4 separate regions of the Homo sapiens genome follow, and all the other regions are linked to region 3. Evidence: promoter capture Hi-C in 16 types of primary human blood cells and fetal thymus (Javierre and others, 2016). All regions are on one chromosome and are shown on one strand. Each heading gives the region's core, a stretch centred on a gene start or on the middle of the fragment in contact. The rest is flanking DNA. Distances are from core to core; before and after follow the strand shown. Region 1 holds the start of LOC105377582 (a long non-coding RNA gene). Region 2 overlaps LOC105377582 (a long non-coding RNA gene). Region 3 holds the start of IRF2 (interferon regulatory factor 2). Region 4 has its middle 37 kb from the start of ENPP6.

The links. The method cuts DNA at HindIII sites, captures the fragments that hold promoters and counts their contacts. A CHiCAGO score of 5 or more calls a contact.
Region 1: a contact is called between a fragment that was not itself captured here and the fragment with the promoter of IRF2 in region 3, in 5 of 17 cell types (naive B cells, neutrophils, monocytes and 2 more). The highest score is 8.9, in naive B cells.
Region 2: a fragment that was not itself captured here is called in contact with the fragment with the promoter of IRF2 in region 3 in 8 of 17 cell types (naive B cells, M0 macrophages, monocytes and 5 more); the score reaches 9.7 in naive B cells.
Region 4: a contact is called between a fragment that was not itself captured here and the fragment with the promoter of IRF2 in region 3, in 3 of 17 cell types (M1 macrophages, M2 macrophages and neutrophils). The highest score is 6.5, in M1 macrophages.

Annotation. Positions count from the first base shown.
Region 1 is chr4:184,291,348-184,294,569 of GRCh38, reverse strand. It overlaps LOC105377582 (a long non-coding RNA gene), which reads left to right and starts at 958. Exons shown (of 6, transcript XR_939552.3): 1 at 958-1,021. LOC124900825 (a long non-coding RNA gene) reads right to left here. Exons shown (of 2, transcript XR_007058413.1): 2 at 1-876. The HindIII fragment of the contact is 9,454 bases long and covers 1-3,222 here.
Region 2 is chr4:184,272,414-184,275,288 of GRCh38, reverse strand. All of the region lies in intron 4 of LOC105377582 (a long non-coding RNA gene), which reads left to right. LOC105377584 (a long non-coding RNA gene) reads right to left here. Exons shown (of 2, transcript XR_007058414.1): 2 at 1,027-1,280. Among named protein-coding and RNA genes, the nearest start is that of MYL12BP2, 40 kb to the left of the region's middle. RefSeq lists enhancers at 1-89, 1,027-1,196, 1,487-1,536. The HindIII fragment of the contact is 4,221 bases long and covers 1-2,875 here.
Region 3 is chr4:184,473,112-184,476,134 of GRCh38, reverse strand. IRF2 (interferon regulatory factor 2) reads left to right here and starts at 1,585. Exons shown (of 9, transcript NM_002199.4): 1 at 1,585-1,756. IRF2-DT (IRF2 divergent transcript) reads right to left here and starts at 1,333. Exons shown (of 1, transcript NR_186573.1): 1 at 1-1,333. RefSeq lists enhancers at 547-876, 1,227-1,416 and silencers at 1,447-1,566, 2,377-2,426, 2,507-3,023. The HindIII fragment of the contact is 7,048 bases long and covers 1,463-3,023 here.
Region 4 is chr4:184,252,966-184,256,313 of GRCh38, reverse strand. It overlaps the pseudogene RPL6P16. Among named protein-coding and RNA genes, the nearest start is that of ENPP6, 37 kb to the right of the region's middle. The HindIII fragment of the contact is 1,578 bases long and covers 904-2,481 here.

The DNA.
Region 1 (3,222 bases), core at 695-3,194, 180 kb after region 3:
CTAGATAAAGGGGGTCAGTGGGGGCATGGGCTTTGGATTGGTGGCTTGCATACAAAAGGCACACTTGTAGGTGAGTCCCTTACTACTGCTAGGAACTGACCAGTCCTGGGAGGGGGAGTCTCTCCAGGATCAGCAAGACCCCAGAAGCCAAAACATCAGAAAACACAGAAACTAAAAAGACATGATTAGAATAACATGGACATCTTGTAATATAAGTATGACATTCAGTATAAGTGTTATATTCAGTTTACAGATGAGAAATTTGAGACTCAGATATTAAATAACAACTGTCACACAATCTCTAAGAGGTAGAAACAGAATTCAAAGCCAAATCTGCCCAAATAAAGCTCATTCTCCTGAAACAAATGTCGATATCCCCATTTTACAGATCACAACCCTTTATCAATGAAAACAACTCTGTACAGGTAAGGGAGGCATCCTTCATGAATTCTTCCTCCCGTTTCCACAATTCTTGCAATTAATCAAACAATCTGAGCCAGTCTTCACTTCATGAGAACAGCTGTCTCCAAAATGCTGAGGACATAAACAACTATAGAATAAACTGAGTTTATGGCAGAAAATCTCCTACGATGTGGAAGAAAGGAGACCTTCGTCATCTTTCTCTGTCGTGGACGTCTTCTCAGTGTGTTGAGGTGTGCTCTGTGACTTCCGTGGAAAGGGCATGGCTGTGTCCTTCTATGCATTTTGCAGTCATTCCCATCTGCAAATACCATTCCTTCCATAAATAACAATCACTCATTAACTCCAGGGACTATTGACTTCCCTTTCTTCAATAAACACTTCTGTGGGCTTGCTGTCTGCTTCCTCCTTGCAGCCACGGTAACCATTGTTGGGTAATGCATGGTTGCCAGGCTCCTGAACGGGAGTGAGATTTTTTTTAAACCTGATGTCACATCCAGGACAAACAAGAGAAGTCCTTTTAACCAAATAGGACTCCTATATAACAAGAGTCTTTGAGAAGAGAGTCGTATGACCTAAGATGTCCCCTCCAACTACTTTGGTAAGGGTCCTCCACCCACAGAGATCTTCCTCTATTCTGAGATGGAGAAATAATGATTAGAGACTTTACGCATAAAATGCCTGCTGTGCCAGCATCCATAGGTGGACCAAAATTCAGTTAATCCTCACAACTGCCTTAAACATAGGTACTAATATAATTGCCATTTTAGAGATGAGAAGAGCTAAAATTTGGAACATTGAGCCCTATGTCTAGCGATGAGAGTGAAGCTGGGATTTGGACCCGTGTGAATGATTCTAGGTTGGAGTGTGTGCTGTAAAACACTCTCGCTGGTTCACCTGAAGTTTAGGGCACACATCATTTTCATTATGTGTATTTTACTACCCACTGGCTTTCTTGTTCTAGAGGTGAAAGGATAGGCTCTCTTCTTCTCAATGAGTGAGCTTATACCCGGAAAATACAGACTTTCAGGAAACTGGCAAAACAAAGGCAATCTTTCTCTAACGAGGAGAAAGGGAGAACTCTTGACCAAAAGAGAAAGTGAAGGGCAGCTATGACCAACTGCAAGACCCCTCCCCTCCCCTCCACACACACACTCTCACACACTCTCACACACTCACACTCACACACACACTCACACACACACACAAAAACACTGAGAAAGTGAAGGGCAGCTATGACTAACTGCAAGATCCCTCCCCTCCACACACACACACACACACTCACACACACACACACTCACACATACACACTCACACATACACACATACACACACACATTCACACACACATACACACACACACACACTGTGAGAAAGTAAAGGGCAGCTATGACCAAATGCAAGATCCCCTCCCCTCCACACACACATACACACTCACACATACACACACACACTCACACACACACATACACACACTGTGAGAAAGTAAAGGGCAGCTATGACCAACTGCAAGACCCCCGCCCCTCCACACACACTCGCACATACTCTCTCACACACACACACACTCACACATACATACACACACTCACACATACACACACACTCACACATACTCACGCACACACATACACACACATACACACACTCACACATATGTACACACACTCACACATACACACACACATACACACACACAGACATACACACACACACTCACACATACACACACACAGACTGGGAGGTGCACTGCCCTGATTCCAGCTGGTGGACGGCAGGGGCAGTGCTGGGCCACTCTGGAGTCTCTGAGCCTTTCCATTTCCTATAAGCGGGGATGGTCCTGCTATGGAGGCTGGCTGGACATTCTGGCCTGTGATGGCATCATTCACCAATCATTTAACAACAAACAGCTAGAGTCTAATCACACTCAGACCAATCATTTAACAACAAACAACTAGAGTCTAATCACACTCAGACATTCAAAATCTACCACTTGATTGCAATGCTGCATCGGCCAGCTTTACAAGCGAGGTGTCAATATGGAGAGTGTGTTAGTCCATTCTTGCACTGCTATAAAGAAAGAAATGCCTGAGACTGAGGAATGTATTTTAAGACAGGTTTAATTGGCTCATGGTTCTGCAGGCTGTACAGGAAGCATAGCAGCTTCTGCTTCTGGGGGAGGCCTTAGGAAACACACAATCATGGTGGACAGCAAAGCGGGAGCAGGTGTCTTCCATGGCAGGAGCAGGACCAAGAGAGCAGAGAGGTGCCACAGACTTTTAAATAACCAGATCATGTGAGAACTCACTATCAGGACGATAGCTCCAAGGGGGATGGTAGTAAAGCATGAGAAACTGCCCCCATGAAAAGCATGAGAAACTGCCCCCATGATCCAATCATCTCCCACCAGGCCCCATCTCCTACGTTGGGAATTACAATTCAAATGAATCTGGGTGGAGACACAGATCCAAACCATATCAGAGACCAAAGAAGGACAATCTTCCCATGAAGTTATATTTGCTTAAGGGGCTCCCAAACTGCATTTTCCTGGGGGCCTCTTCTGTGGCAGCATGTCACTACACTGTGAGGCATTATTCCTTGACTATCTGCACCTTATTGACACTCAGATGTAGGCTGACATTCTTAACCTGTGTGAGAGTTTTTAGATTGGTAAGAACAAAAATAAAGGTGAACAACCACACACAGAATTAGTAGAAATAAAAAATAAGCTGTTAATCAAAAGAAAAGAAATGAACTGTCAAAAACGATATGAAAGTAGCCAGTCTTATTCTCAATGAAAGAAAT
Region 2 (2,875 bases), core at 365-2,864, 200 kb after region 3:
AATAGGGAGAAGGCCCAGCCCAGACTGAACTCCAGTTTGATTTGTGCAGTAGAGACTGGGCGTTTTAAAGGGAGAGTGAGAGAATTGGGCAGGGGTGACCAGGGCTCAGTGGGGTCAGAGAAGTGGAAAACTACAAACAGCAGAGCGGGCTTGGTCCATGAGAAACCCACCTGGGTTTGTTAACAGCCTCCCTCACAGACTGGGGCACAGGGGCCCGATCTCTGGGTGTTGGCTGGAGCAAATGGCAAACTTGTTTGGCAGCCTTGTGTGTCCTTGGGATTGCCTCCCAAGGACACCCAAGGTGGCTGGGGTCACCTAGGGATGCGGCCTTGAGCTATGAGAAGCCATGCTAGTGTTTGTCCAAGTCTTTCTAGGCCAGGGTTGAGGCCTAGTTGAGAAGAGGGCTCAGGGGAGCCTCAGTCGAGTTTGGTCCAGGAGAGAATCTGTCACTGGCCTGAAGTGGTCTCCTTCATACTGAGTGTCCTCAACAGTGGCTTTGATTCTGGGGCCAGGCTGCTAAACACATGGAGCTGATAGTCAGGGCTGTGCTGAGCTGGGAGCCTGACCACATGATTCAGTGTCCTTGGGGTAGGGCTCAGAAGGGTGATCACAGATTTCAGCTCCGACCCAGTATGCACAGATGGTGAAAGGGGCGGCCCACTCTGGAGCCACGGCCACATCCAGGCTTTGGGGTGGAGTTGGGGCTGGCTGTTGGTTCTGCCGAGCCCAGGGGGAAGATAAACCCTTTCCTCTGAGCCTCCATTTCCTCGCTTGCAAAATGAGGACAGGGCCTTTCTCCTGGGGCTGGTGGATCAGAGAGAAGCATTCCAGTAATGTGAGTAGCACTTAATTAGCATTCAGTAAATACTCATTCCTCTCTTCCTTCAGAGGAAAGTTCAGGCAGTGTCTGATTTAATAAACAGGTTAAAGACCAAAATGCCCCCTGTAAGTTGGTTGGTTGTAATTTAGAAATGTATTATATTTAGATTCCCAAGACCACTCATAAACACTCATTTATGCTGTGTGTAACTTAGAAACATGTTATATTTAGATTCCCAAGACCACTCACATTCATTTATGCCAGATATGGACACTTCACCACAGGCTTATAACAAAAAGTACAGAAGAAAAAAACAATCTTTTTGCCAGCTTGTTTCCATGTGCCAGACGTTTGTGAGTGAGGGGCCCGAACTGTGAAGGGTGCCCATGCTGGTGCCTCCTCCCGAGAGTGCAGAAGGCAAGCACCCGAGCTCAGCTCTTGTCGTCCTCACCCGGAGTTCCTGTGAATGTTAAGAGAACACAGCTTAGTGTCAGCTTTGAGTTCACATTTTGACTCCCCTGCTGAGTAATTCTGTGGCATGGGGCAAGTCATTTAACCTATCTAAGCGTCAGTTTCCTCATCTGTGAAATGGGCTAAGAACAGTCACTCCTCAGAGGGTTCTTTCGAGGGTTAAATGAGAAAACTCATGAAAAGTGCATGGTGGAGTATCTGGCCAATCACTAGGCCAAGTGTCCCCTTGGGGCGTTCATCTCTGTGCTGCAAGAGCTTGCTGGCTTGGCGTGGTGGCTCATGCCTGTAATCCCAGCATTTTGGGAGGCTGAGGCAGACCGATTTCTTGAGCCCAGGAGCTCGAGATTAGCCTGGTCGACATGGCGAAACTGCATCTCTGCAAACAATCCAAAAGTTAGCCAGGCATAGTGGTGTGCTCCTGTAGTCCCAGGTACTTAGGAGGCTGAGGTAGGAGGATTGCTTGAGCCTGGGAGGTCAAGGTTGCAATGAGCTGAGATAGATTGCAACACTGCACTCCAGCCTGGGCGACAGAGGGAGACCCTGCCTCAAAAGAAAGAAAGAAAGAAGAGCTTGTGCACAAGTGGTGTTCAGGGAATGTCTGGAGACCTGATCTCAAGTGCTGCCTTGGTGTATGGGCTGCCTCCCGCCTGGAGGCACAGAGCTCAGGAACAGAAGGTGGGAGGGCAGCAGGACTCCCCCAGCCTTCAAGACAGCCTCCTTTACGACAGCCACAGATAGGGATGGGATGGTGGGGTTTCTGCTGAGCAACTTTTATAGACTGAATAGGTGTGAAGCCAGAGGAAACAGAACTCTAGAAAACAACTGGCCTCCCAGTTGTTTCTGGAAACCCAGACGGGAAGCTGCATCAAGCTCTGAGGCTTCCTAGGAGTCAGAACTCTGGTCTTGGCTCACAGTGACTGAGAAGTGAAGGGTAGCCGAAACTGTAGAGTCACAAGGGACACTTTTATTTCATCTCAATGAATGCTTTTTGTTGGAGGAGGGATGAGATTCTAGAACCAAACTGCCCATTGTTGATGCATCTGTGAGGCCAGGAGAACCCACGGGTTTTGACCCGTAACCCTGGCGAGTATTAAATGTGATGATGGTGACTATGTACCCAGGCAGCTAGCCTCCTTATTGATTGATTGACTGACTGATTCATTGATTGATTGATTGATTCATTCATTCATTCACCAAACGTGCTCCTGTGGTATGCTGGACACTGTTCTAGTACTACAGGCACAGCAGGGACCAAAGCAGAAAAACGCCTGCCTGCCTTAGGGGACCAAGGGGACACAGATACGCTCCTGCCCTTTGGAAATAATTCCAGAGTACGGAGTGCAGGAAGGAATCAAGAAGAAGGAGGAAAAAGGACAGTAAAAGAAACATAAAAGCAGGAGGGGAGTGCAAGAAATGAAGACCCCCGGGTCAGAGCCCAGAGGAATCCACCACGTGGCTTGGGTGCTTCTGGTTATTACCATGGTTACCGGCCCTGATGGCCACCCCTGAAGCGGAAAGCCCATTTCTGTTATTTCTGTAACATTCATAGATGACAGTTCCAAAGCCTCTGTGTGGGTTGATTAA
Region 3 (3,023 bases), core at 336-2,835:
CGCCACCAAACCTGGCTAATTTTGTATTTTTAGTAGAGATGGAGTTTCTCCATGTTGGTCAGGCTGGTCACAAACTCCCGACCTCAGGTGATCCTCCTGCCTTGGCCTCCCAAAATGCTGGGATTACAGGCATGAGCCACTGCACCCGGCCTACCCTGTCTCTTAAAAAAAAAAAAAAGTGAGTATTATAATAGAGGGGATAAGGAATAATGTGTATGTGAGGTCTATTTCTGAGACCAGAGCCACAAAACAGAATCCTGCACCTTAGCCATTTTCTTACCACACGCGTTTTCTTGGATACTTCCATTTTTCCAGTCTATATAATTCAATACTTCTGTGACAGAGAGGTGTTGGAGTTTTTTGTTTTGCTTTTGTTTTTTCGCAACTCTTTACATACAAACAGCTATGGTCTCCCAGGAAGGAACTTCCTCTGTTGAGTACAGAAGTCTGGGAAAAGACTGGTGAAATTGCATGCGAGGAAGAAACAGGTCTAACTAAATGTGAATCTATACTTTTAAAGCAAGGGACCACAAAGGGTAGGTCCCAAGGAAGTTGCATTGCTTGCTGCACTTGTCACACGGGCTGTACTTTCTTCTCTCATTTATTTCCATTTACAGCGTTGAAAACTGAGGCCTTAGGCTTTGGTTGAAAACCGAGGCCAAGGGTGACCAGCCAGTGAGTTAAGGAGGCCCCAGCCGAACTTTGCTGGAAGTGCTCCAGCATAAAGCCTCTCTCCAGAACCAGCCGCCACTGAGACGTCTTGAAGTCAAAGTAACTCACACCCTTGTCCACCTCGCCCTGCGGTGAAGAAACTTCGGTCGCACAGGCTCCAGAACTCATCTTGGCGTGGGCTGTGACTTACTGGGGGATGGGCCTCCTTTTCGTTCTAGCTCCTAAATGGAGCGGAGCGCCAGGTGGTGTCAGAGGGGGCGGCGGCCCCTCCAATGGTGGCACCCTCAGCCACGGATAAGGTTCCAATTAGGTAAGGACGCAAGTAATGCTGTCGTTTCGGCTGACTGCTCCTTTCATTCCTTGGAGGTGGTCGGTGTCACAAAACGAATTTTCATTTACTCTCAACAGTCACACCAGCCCTGCTAACTGGATGGTCGCAGCCCCGTGCCTTCGCCGGACGCCCTCCTGGAACCTTCAGGCCACCCTGAGGATGGAGACTCGGGTGCCCGCTCTCCTCCCCTACCGCCGCGGGCCTGCGCCCCCCGCCCCGGACCCCGACTCGGACGTTCTAGCCGCACGTGCGGGCGCCCCTGGGTGCGAGCCGCGGACTCACGAGCCGCTGCTTGTTGCTCCCGCCGCCGCGACCTGGGGAAGCGAAAATGAAATTGACTTTTCCGAGAAATGATGAAAGCGGCGCTGCCCGCCAATGAGCTGCTGCGGCGAACTTCCGCACCTCCCGGCCGGGCCGCTCGCGCCCTCCCTCCGCCTCCACCTCCCGGTTGCACAAGCTTGAAACAAACACTGGGGAGGAAGGGCGGAGGGAGGAGGGCGGAGAGGGGAGGCGAGGGAGGGAGCGCGGCCGGAGGAGGGCGGGGGGTGGGGGGATTTCCAGCCGCGGCTCTTCGCAGTTTCCTCTCCTTGTTTTGCTTTCGATCTGGACTGTTCTCAGGCAAGCCGGGGAGTAACTTTTAGTTTTGCTCCTGCGATTATTCAACTGACGGGCTTTCATTTCCATTTCACATACCCTAGCAACACTTATACCTTGCGGAATTGTATTGGTAGCGTGAAAAAAGCACACTGAGAGGTAACATTTTTCAAATAATAGTTGTGACTGTGTGTGTTTCTCTCGAGGGCATGTTTCTGGGGACTGTGGGGGGCCGTGTGTGTATGCGTGTCCTGATGCCTTGACACGATGTTTTGCAGACGGAAAATGCCGGGGTTCATAAATATTAATACTGATTTTTGGAGGAACAGTCGGCGCAATTATGGATCATCTGATTTTAGGGGAAGCAGGTTCTGCTGCTGTTGCTGCTGCTACTGGGGCTGCTGAGGCTGCGAGGAGGAGGAGGAGGAGGAGGTAGAGAGGGAGGAGGAGGAGGAGGTTGGTGGAGGTTTAATTTCACTTTTGGATTTGCAGATGCGGAGAGGTGGCTCCATGGACACAGACCTGCTGTGTGTGCTTCTGCGCCCCAGGTGTTGTGTGTGGGGGTGCAGGTCAGCTGGAGTCGGGCCTCATTTAAAACAAAATTGTGTGTATGTGCGTGTTTGTGTGTGCGCGCGTGTGTGTGTGTGCAGCCACCGCCGCCACCGGATCCGAAGGAGGGGAGCGGGTCCTTCTCGGTGCCCGCGGCGGCGCCTCTCCAGGCTGCCTCCAGCGTAAATAAGCAGGCACCGCTCCCCGGCCGGGAGGAGCGCCTCCAGCCACGGCCAGAGGAAACTTGCTGGGGCGCCCCGCGGCGGTCCAGGGGCTCGCCTGCCTGCCGGGCTCGGGGTCGGGTCGCGGGCGTCGGGTGCCAGCGGCCGGGGCGGGAGGGCGGGCTCGGAGCCGGGCCGGGCGCCGGGCCTGGCCGACGCGCCCTGCTTCCTGGGGGCTGGGCCGCCGCCGCCGCCGCTCAGAAGGGACGCCGCGTCCTCCTTCCCGCCGGCCAGCGCCCGGTCGGGCCCTGGGGCTTTGTCATTGCACTTGTCCCAGCGCGCCAGGGGCTCGGGCGGCGCGTCCCAGGAAGGCACCGTGCCGAGGGGTCAGCCGCCCGGGCCGCGGCCTAGCGCCGTGCGCCCCCGGGTCCCCGCAGGCGCCCCCGGCCGGCCTCGCGCGCTGGGCCTGACCCGCCTCGGCTACGGAGCGGGCGAGGTGGGGGCGGGGAGCCTCCGGGGACCGAGCGGCGCAGTGGGGGCCGGCGTCCCCTCGGGGTCCCGGGGCGCGGGCCGCGGCGGGGTGGGGACGCGAGTGCCCGCCCCGTGCCCTCCGACCCGGCTCCGGGCGCCGGGTGACATTCGCCCGCTGGCCGAACATGGTTGGTGCAAAGCCGCGGCGGCCGCCACTTCCTTTCCGCCTCGCCGGTAGGGCTCGC
Region 4 (3,348 bases), core at 443-2,942, 220 kb after region 3:
TTGGATGTGGTTTTGTGAGTTCTTGCATACGGATATTCTACAATCCACAAAGCCACTCTAGTGTCTCCAAGTCAAAGGTTAATACCCAGGGAAGGTGAAAATCTCCTTTAAAATTGCTAGTGAAAAGTGGGATAAGCCAGAGGAATATAGAATTAGGTTTATGTAGCAGCCTGGGTTTCCATAGCAACGAGATGCAGTTGCGTCAAACACACGACTAAACTTTTCCACACTGGTTTTTAGCCTGGAAGGAGGCTGGAAGAGGGTATTTACTGACCGTGCAGGCGCAGTGAAAATTTGACAGCAAAGCCCTCCGAAAAGTCTCAGTCAAAGCAAATGGCAATGACTCCCCACAAAAATACCACGTGTCAGCCCCCGCTACAGCCTCGCGGGCCGAACCAGAGTGGCACATATGCAAAAGTGTCTCGCTTGTGGGACAAAAGGTATTGTAACTCATCCTGGAAACACACTACCCTTAAGAAACCCCTCAGAAGCACAGGGGCAGTCATTTGGGGTCTCTGGGGTTTCATGAAATACAGCATCACATTTTGCAGCTCAAAGCCTCCTATTTATTGGGGACTCAGTGAAGAAAGCCAGAAGTGTGATGTTGCCTGGGTAGGAGAGCCCGGCCTGCAGCCTTCTGCTAGCAGCAGCAGGAAACTGCAGCCCTGAATCAGGGCCTTTGTTCTCCTGAAGCCTGCAGGGAGTAGGCCCTTCTGCTCACACTGCCCTTGGGCAGCAAGCGTGTGTCCCTGGGAGCCCATGGTGGCGGCCCCCTAGGTGCAGCAGGAGTTGGGCCTGGAGGCCTGGCTGGGGGCAGCTGGGGACAGCACTCATTGTTTCTGCCCCTGCTCCTCTCGCAGCAGTGAGGACTGGGCTCCCATCCAGCAAAAAGGGCTGGAAGCTTTCTGCAAGAAGCACCCAGGCTTGGTTGGTTGGTTGGTTTGAAATGTATCCATTATTTAATTAGGTTCTTTGCAAGAAATTGAGAACCGCAGTTGGTCAGGACACATTGCGTTTGTGAGTGAGAACACAGAATGAAGGTAGCCCTAGAGCTGAGGGACAGCTTTGGTTCGGGGCAGCATTTGTGAGTCCACAGCTTTCTGATCTGTCTCGCACTGCTGTGTAAGCCGCATTTCCTTCTCTGTGTGGAAGTGCTCACCTTCCTGGTGTCTGTGCGTGTGCAGCAGCCAGATGTGGGGGATTTTCACACTGCTCATCGCAACTTTGATGGAGGTGCTGATGACACATTTCCAGTATGTTCCACACAGAGGAACTCAGTTGAGAAGCAGAGGTCTAATTACTGCTCAGCTCAGGAAAACCACCCTCTGGACTCCGTGGCGCCCAGTGAGGATGATGGGAGCAGTCCCGGGGGAGTGAGGCTGCCTGCAGCCTTCCCACGTTCTGACTGAAGGGTTTTGTTTTGTTTGCCAGGGCTCCATGATTCCAAGGCGCATCTTGAGTAGGCACATAGGTAGGCATTTCCGGAAGTTTTACCATCCAGGCACCTCCATTCTTATCATCCTCTGCTGGTTTTGTGACAGTAGCAAGAACCATTTTTTTTTTTTTTCCAAATCTGGATTTAGCGGCTGAATGCTTCCTCTTGTACATGGCTTTTCTGGACTACAAGCAGGTCAGGAATATCTGCCCATACCCCTGATGGGACAGGGTTTCTGCTACAGAGGGGCTTCCCCATCCTGGGCTCTTTGGGTTTGAGATTACCCTTCTTAATCTTGCCACTGGCATGAGCCTTCTTGGCTACAGGTTTCTTTCCTTAGCTTCCCGCTGCTCAATTTTTCACTCATCATCTTGCGACACGGGAAAGCGTTGGGTCTTGTTTTGATGCAACTCACTACGGAATAGATGCAGAGGCAGAGGCAAAAGTATCAGTGTTTTATCAATTGCTTGAAAGGCTACAAATAGATTCACAGAATGTGTAGTGCTGGAGGAGACAAACATACAACACAAGAAAGATATTCAGCCTGCAAATATACTTAATGCCTGGCCAGTGTCAGGGAGAATGGCAGGACCAGCTCCTCTCAATATGGGAAGGAGTACTGAGGAACAAGACCCTGGTGTGTCCGGAATTGGTGGGTTCTTGGTCTCACTGACTTCAAGAATGAAGCCACAGATCCTCGTGGTGAGTGTGAGAGTTTACTTAAAGATGGTGTGTTGGGAGTTTGTTCCTTCTGCTGTTCGGACATGTTCAAAGTTTCTTCCTTCTGGTGGGTTCGTGGTCTCGCTGCTTCAGGACTGAAGCTATATACCTTCACGGTGAGTGTTACAACTCTTAAGACGGTGCGCCTGTAGTCATTCATTCCTCCCATCCGCAGTCGTTCATTCCTCCCAGTGGGTCTGTGGTCTTGCTGGCCTCAAGGGTGAAGCGGCAGGTCTAGGAAGTGACGGTTACAGCTCATAATGGCAGTGCAGGCCCAATGAGTAAACAGCAGCAAAATTTATTGCAAAGAGCAAAAGAACAAAGCTTCCACAGACCGGAAAAAGACCTGAGCAGGTTACCACTGCTGGTTGGGGCAGCCTGCTTTTATTCCCTTATCTGGCCCCACCCACATCCTGCTGATTGGTCCATTTTACAGAGAGCTGATTGGTCTGTTTTACAGAGAACTGATTGGTCCCTTTTGACAGGGTGCTGATTGGTGTGTTTACAATCCCTGAGCCAGACACAGAGTGCTGATTGGTGCATTTACAATCCTCTAGCTAGACATAAAAGTTCTCCAAGTCCTCACCAGATTATCTAGACACAGAACACTGATTGGTGCATTTACAAACCTTTAGCTAGACACAGGGTGCTGATTGGTGTGTTTACAAACCTTAAGCTAGAAACAGAGTGCTGATTGGTGTGTTCACAAACCTTTAGCTAGACATAAAAGTTCTCCAAGTCCCCACCCCACTCAGGAGCCCAGCTGGCTTCGCCTAGTGGGTCCCGTGCCAGGGCCGTGGGCGGAGCTGCCCACCAGACCCGCACACGGCGCCTGCACTCCTCAGCCCATGGGTGGTCAATGGGACCCGGTGCCCCTGAGCAGGGGGCGGTGCCGGTCAGGGAGGCTCGGGCGGTGCAGGAGCACATCACGGCGGGGGTGGGCCGCTCGGGCATGGCGGGCTGCAGGTTCCAAGCCCTGCTCTGCGGGGAGGCGGCTGAGGCCCTGTGAGAATTCGAGTGTGGCACGGGCGGGCCGGCAGTGCTAGGGAACCTGGTGCCCCCTCCGCAGCTGCTGGCCTAGGTGCTAAGCCCCTCACTGCTGGGGCTGGCAGTGCCAGCCTGTCACTCTGAGTAAAGGGCCGCCAAGCCCATGCCTACCTGGAACTTGCACTGGCCCGCGGGCACCGCGCGCA